Regions from separate parts of the Homo sapiens genome. Here region 1 is linked to region 2. Evidence: promoter capture Hi-C in human tissues and cell types (Jung and others, 2019). All regions are on one chromosome and are shown on one strand. The core of a region is centred on a gene start or on the middle of the fragment in contact, and the rest is flanking DNA. Distances in the headings are between cores, read along the strand shown. Region 1 overlaps KDM3B (lysine demethylase 3B). Region 2 holds the start of CDC23 (cell division cycle 23).

Region 1 (3,340 bases), core at 225-2,724, 160 kb after region 2:
AAAAATCATGCTTCTCTCTGAGCCTTGCATCTCCATCTTTTTATTAAGTAGAAATGAAGCTTACTTTTCTCATTGCTAATTTCTTTGTTGGAGTATTACAGATAATAGAGCTAGAACTTTATAATGAATTTAACTTCTGGGATAACTTTTTAGCAATGCAGTTCACAAGTATTTGTTGCCTGTGAAGAGATTAAACCGATAGCTAGGCTACTGAGCTATGGTTCCATACTTTCCAAGTATAAATTTCCTGAATTTTCATATCATTATAATTTTTATGTTGGTTACTTGAGAACATGTATACAAACAAAAAAAAAGCCATTGTGAATTCAGTAATATTTTCCTTCATATTTTTTCCACTGTGGTAAAATACACATAAAATTTTATTAAGTTTTTAATGGATTTGAATTTTATTAATTACATCATCTACATGTATTTGAAAAATCATAGCACATACATCTGCAAGACCTGGCATTCACTCTACAGGAAATGCCTGGTGCCCCTAGTACTTACAGATCCTCCTGGTAACTCCACAGTTGCCAGTTGGGAGTCACATGTGTGGGGATTCTAATACTGTCCTGCATTACTTAGTGTTGCCTTAAGAAGTTTCATGTGAGTTTGTTTTTTTTTTTTTCCGAGACAGAGTTTTGCTCTTGTTGCCCAGGCTGGAGTGCAGTGGCACGATCTCAGCTCACTGCAACCTCCGCCTCCTGGGTTCAAGTGATTCATCTGCCTCAGCCTCCTGAGTAGCTGGAATTATAGGTGCCCACCATCATACCCAGCTAATTTTTGTATTTTTAGTAGAGACAGGGTTTCACCATCTTGGCCAAGTTGGTCGTGAACTCCTGACCTTGTGATCCACCCGCCTCGGCCTCCCAAAGTTCTGGGATGGCAGGCATGAGCCCCCGTGCCTGGCCGCATATGTAGCTTTTGATGCTGTGTCCACTCATCTTCAGAAGTCAGAATTTATATAGAAAGTCAAAGCTGGGGCCAGCCAGGGTAGCTCACGCCTGTAATCCCAGCACTTTGTGAGGCTGAGGCAGGAAGATTGCTTGGCTCCAGGAGTTTGAGACCAGCCTGGGCAACATAGTGAGACCCTGTCTCTACAAATAATCAAAAATTACCTGGACATGGTAGTGTGTGCCTGTAGTCTCAGCTACCCAGGAGGCTGAGGGAGAATTGCTTGAGCCTAGGAAGTCGAGGCTGTAGTGAGCCATGATTGTGCCACAACACTCAGTTTGGGCAACAAAGTGAGACCCTGTCTCAAAAAAAAAAAAAAAAAAGTCAAATCTAAGCATAATATTTATTAGAAAAATGTAGCTTCATTTAATGTAATCTGCTTTCAGAGCTGTATAAATACAGTGCCTACTTAAGTATATTTCAAGAAGTGGAGTATCTGTTCAGGGAAGAAGAAAGCATTGTTGTGACTACAGCAAGTGTCTGCTAACAGATGTGAGATTACTGCTGACTGTTGCACTTAAGAATCCACATGCAGCTGGGTGTGGTGGCTCATACCTGTAATCCCAACACTTTGGGAGGTCAGGGTAGGAGGATCACTTGAGCCCAGAAGTTCAAGACTGGCCTGGGTAACACAGCAAGACCCTATCTCTACCGAAATAATTAATTTTAATTTAATTTTAAATTTTAAAAAAGGCTGGGCACGGTGGCTCATGCCTGCAATCCCAGACTTTGTGAGTCTGAGGTGTACAGATCCCTTGTTCAGGAGTTCAAGGCCAGCCTGGGCAACATGGTGAAACTGCGTCTCTACAAAAAATAAGCCGGGCATGGTGGCACATGCTAGTAGTTCCAGCTACTTGGGAGACTGAGGCAGGAGGATCTTTTGAGCCCAGGATGTGGAGGTTGCAGTGAGCTGAGATCACGCCATTTCACTCCAGCTTGGGCGACAGAGTGAGACCCTGTCTCAATCGATCAATCAGTCAATAGAATCCACACGCAGGAATGGGAGGGCAATGTTTTTCAGCATTTTATCTTTTTGAATTTTTGCCATATGCATACATCACCTATTCAAAAAATAATTAAAAGTTCACAGTCATTTCAATAGAAGTATTAAAAATGTCTTCCTATTGGATTATGAGCTTTTTGAGACCAAGAAGTATGCCAGATTCCTTTCTGTATTCCTGAACCTAGTATAGTACCTTATATATGGTAAGCCCTCAGCTAGTATGTGTAGATACGAATTAGAAACTAAGAGTTGCAAATTTCAGTAGGGACATGACTAAAAATTACTGAATGACTGTGAATAGTTCATGCCTCCTTAACTCTGTTCCTCCTCTTCAGAATGTGGCTGAGACCAGCTTCCTGGCTCTGAAGATCAGCTATTATTGACACCCATTAAAATAACTTAAACACAAGTTAGAATTATTCCTAGTCAGTTGTTCAAAACAGTGGGGTTTATGTTCATTTATAAGTATAGTGTGAGATTTTTCCAAGTGTGACTTCCAAACTGCTTTTTATCTCTTGCAGATCTTTGTAGAATTTGATGGCTGTAACTGGAAGCAACACTCCTGGGTAAAAGTTCATGCTGAGGAAGTTATCGTGCTTCTGCTGGAAGGGTCTCTTGTATGGGCGCCCCGTGAGGACCCAGTCCTTCTCCAGGGCATTCGAGTCTCCATTGCACAATGGCCAGCCCTGGTGAGTGGCTTTTACTGGGTGGGAACATGTCTGAGCTTTACTCCTATAATATAACTATGACATGTTAGGGACAGAGTATGTGTAAGAACTACATACTTTGTCCTTAACGTACATTTATTCTGAAGTTACTAATGCAAAAATTAGGAGCAGTCTTTTCTCCTTTGTCCTCCAAAATGTTTTATATTAGGTGATATTTGATATGAAAGAATTTTTTTGGCCAGACGCGGTGGCTCACGCCTTGTAATCCCAGCACTTTGGGAGGCTGAAGCAGGAAGATCCCTTAAGCTCAGGAGTTTGAGATCACCCTGGGTAACATGCCAAAACCCCATCTCTACAAAAAATACAAAAATTAGCTAGGTCTGGTGGCACATGTCTGTGGTCCCACCTACTTGTGGGGCTGAGGTGGGAGGATGGCTTGAGCCCAGGAGGTTGAGGCTACAGTGAGCCGTGATTGTGCCACTGCATCCAGCCTGGGGGACAGAGTGAGACCCCTGTCTCAAAAACAAAAAAAACAACAATGAAAAGAATTTTTTCACCTTTAGTCTTTTCTCAGAGCAAGGTTTTGAAACATTATTTGTAACCTTTAAAGTTTTTTTTTCAATTATGGAGTGAAAATAGCATTATAAAATTTATTTTATTTTTTGAGACAGGGTCTGGCTCTGTCACTCAGGCTGGAATGCAGTGGTGCAAT
Region 2 (3,643 bases), core at 503-3,002:
GAGAATTGCTTGAACCCGGGAGGCAGAGGTTGCAGTGAGCCATCATGCCATTGCACTCCAGCCTGGGCAACAAGAGCAAGACTCCGTCTCAAAAAAAAAAAAAAGTAAAATAAAATAAAACTGTCTATCAGGTATTATGTTCACTATTTGGATGATGGGTTCAACTGAAGCCCAACCTCAGAATCACACAATATATCCATGTAGCAAATCTGCACAAGTAACCCCTGAATCTAAAATTTAAACAACAAAAACAATTATTTATCCTATTCAGGACCAACGATGGGCCTAGGCATTATGAAAGTGGGCACAAGAGTAAAAGCTAATGAGACAAATATAAACTGCATTGACTCAAAAAATTTACCTAAGAGTATACCGTATGCTTTACCCTTATTGCTTTATTTAATCTTCTTGAAAATGCAGCAATTATTAACATTATCTATAGATGAGAAGGCTGTCACTTAGAAATCATTTGCCCACATTGGTGCTGCTAATAAAGAACTTGACCGAAATATAGATGCAAGCACCAGGCACACTTCTAAGCGGTCTATATTATTATCTCATTGACTTCTCTCAATATCCCCATTGAGTAGATACTATTACTATCGTCACTGCACAGATGAGGAAACTGGCTCAGAAGGTTAAGTTGCCAAAGGTCATTTGAACCCAGAGTCGTCTCAATCCAGCACCCAAACTTAACCATTATTTGCTATGCTGATCAGACAACAGTGTAGGTATTGTAAAAACTTTATTTATTTATTATTTATTTTGAGACAGTGTCCCGCTCTGCCCTCGGGCTGGAGTGCAATGGCGCGATCTCAGCTCACTGCAACCTTCGCCTCCCGGGTTTAAGCGATTCTCCTGTCTCAGCCTCCCGAGTAACTGGGATTACAGGCGCGCGCCACCATGTCCGGCTAATTTTGTATTTTTACTAGAGACGGGGTTTCACCGTGTTGGCCAAGCTGGTCTCGAACTCCTAACCTCGTGATCCGCCCACCTCGGCCTCCTAAAGTGTTGGGATTACAGGCGTGAGCCACCGCGCCAGACCAAAACTTTTGATTCTTCTCATCCTTTTGGGTATTTATTATGAGATATCCTTATAATAATTCCTTATAATAATATTTACTATTATGAGGCACTCTTATGTCTAGGTTTGGCTATAAGCCCTAAAAGGCTGAAATCATAAGCAGTAATTGTTTACTAATTCTCCCCAGCTTTAAATAAGAGCACCACCAAGTCTTTCAAAGCTCAAGAAAACTAAATGGATAAAATCATTTAAAACACTCAGCTCTTTGAATGCCTGAATTCCCTCTACAAACATTTCTGCTAAGCAGTTTGCTCTCCTCCAGTGACAGGGCACTCAGTGGCTCTTGAGGCACACCCCTGGGTTGATGGGGAGCGCTCACTGTAAACATGTCCTTACCTCTGTAATAGGCGGAGGCGGTTGCAGCTCGGCCAGAGGCAATGCAGGGAGAGAGAAAGCCAACTCCGCCGACCTGGAACACCCACACAAACTAGATCAGCTCGACAAGCCCCCCAAGGCCAAGGATCCAAGCCCCGTCCCTTCCCACTCCAACATCTCACCATTTGCTACTGTGTAGTAGGCCCCGCTCCCGGGTAAGGCCCGCAATAAGCAGCAGTTGCTTTTTAATTTCCCGCAAATCTGAGAAATCGCTGTTTATGGACAGGACAGGCGCCACTGCCGCCGTCACAGCCACCGGGACCATGGAGGTACTCGCAGCCATTTTCCCGACTCGGGCCACTCCAGCCAATCATCGGCGATAATACTGGCTGCCCATCTGCACCAAAAATATCTGCCTGTCATTGGCCGGCTCTTGCTCCGGAAAAACCAATCATAGGTCTTATTTCTGAAACGTCACGAAGAGGCGGGGGAAAAGAAACAACTACATCCCCAAATGGCCAAGAGCTACTGAGGCGGGAAAATTAGAAAATAGGCGGGGCGAGGGAGAAGCCACGACCTCTGGGCGGGGCGGGGAAGAGGGGAATGAGTGACTGGGAAAAGTAAACTGGGAAGCTAGGGGTGGGAGTAGGGGCAAGAAAGGGTGGAGAAGGGAGAGTGCCTTTCACGGGTGATGTGATTGGATGAAAAATAGAAAGGGTGTAGTTTCAGGGCCGACTCTGTACCAGATAATGACAAAGTGATGTATATGCTAGGAAAGATGCATGGTAGCCTCTGGATTCTTCCTTAAAATAGGAGGATGTATCGCCCCATGTGGAGGATTTTTCCTCTTTGTCTACCCTTTCTTACCCCGGGTAGCCCGGGGAGGTGGGGGTGAGAGCATTGTTCTGTAACATTTATTTAACAATAATTGTTAACATTTCACATTTATTGAGGGTTTATCCTACAACAGGTTCTGCTCTTTTACAACTATAATCTGGTTTAATCCTAAAAACAGCACTATGATATTCGTATCATCCCAATTTTATAGAAAGAAAAACGGAAGCTCGGCCAGGCGCGGTGGCTCAAGCCTGTAATCCAACACTGTGGGAGGCCGAGGCGGGCGGATCACGAGGTCAGGAGATCGAGACCATCCTGGCCAACACGGTGAAACCCCGTCTCTACTAAAAATACATAAAAATTAGCCGGGCGTGGTGGCACGTGTCTGTAGTCCCAGCTACTCGGCAGGCTGAGGCAGGAGAATCGCTTGAACCTGGGAGGCGGAGGTTGCAATGAGCCGAGATCGTGCCATTGCACTCCAGCCTGGGCGACAGAGCGAGACTCCGTCAAAAAAAAAAAAAAAAAAAAACAAAACCAGAAAAGAAAAAAAAGAAAAAACGGAAGCTCAGAGAAGTTCTATCACTCTTCCAAGGAGAGAGTCTAGACTATAAACCAGATTTTACTCCAAAGCCCAATGTTCTTAAACATTACATGAACATTTTCGGCGTTTTTTGGTTTTTATCCTTTCATAGTAGTATACTATCTTACCAACCCCTCGGGAATTTTTTTTGAAACCATTTTGTCATTCACTGGGTGTTATATAGAAGTTATCTATTTTTAAATTGTTATTTTATTATTTTATTTATTTTAAGAAAGGGTCTCGGCCGGGCGCGGTGGCTCACGCCGGTAATCCCAGCACTTTGCGAGGCGAAGGCGGGCGGATCACGAGGTCAGGAGATCAAGACCATCTTGGCTAACACGGTGAAACCCCTGTCTCTACTAAAAATACAAAAAAAAAAAAAATTAGCCGGGCGTGGTGGCAGGCACCTGTAGTCCCAGCTACTCTGGAAGCTGAGACAGAATGGCGTGAACCTGGGAGGCGGAGCTTGCAGTGAGCAGAGATCGCGCCACTGCACTCCAGCCTGGGCGACAGAACGAGACTCTGTCTCAAAAAAAAAAAAAAGAAAGAAGGTCTCGTTCTGTCATCCAGGCTGGAGTGGCCGCGGCCCGATCAAGGCTCACTGCATCCTCAAACTCCTGGGCTCCAGTGATCCTGCCGCCTCAGCCTCCCAAGTAGCTGGGACCACAGGTGTGTGTCACGACACCCAGCTAATTTTTTTTTTTTTTGTAATTTTCGTAGGGACAGAATCTCCCTATGTTGCCCAGGCTGGTCTCAAACTCCTGGGCTTAAATGATCCTCTCGCCTTGCCCTCCCAAAGTTCTGGGATTACAAGCATAAGCCACCAT

What was found. Contacts are between HindIII fragments. The study calls those that stand out against the background at their distance.
Region 1: a contact is called between a fragment that was not itself captured here and the fragment with the promoter of CDC23 in region 2, in 2 of the 25 tissues and cell types used here (dorsolateral prefrontal cortex and mesendoderm cells).

What each region holds. Positions count from the first base shown.
Region 1 is chr5:138,370,193-138,373,532 of GRCh38, forward strand. It overlaps KDM3B (lysine demethylase 3B), which reads left to right. Exons shown (of 24, transcript NM_016604.4): 2 at 2,482-2,649. Among named protein-coding and RNA genes, the nearest start is that of KDM3B, 19 kb to the left of the region's middle. RefSeq lists enhancers at 583-1,083, 1,084-1,584. The HindIII fragment of the contact is 5,343 bases long and covers 1-3,340 here.
Region 2 is chr5:138,211,571-138,215,213 of GRCh38, forward strand. CDC23 (cell division cycle 23) reads right to left here and starts at 1,753. Exons shown (of 16, transcript NM_004661.4): 1 at 1,582-1,753; 2 at 1,421-1,493. The coding sequence starts at 1,742. RefSeq lists an enhancer at 1,770-2,064. The HindIII fragment of the contact is 12,003 bases long and covers 1-3,643 here.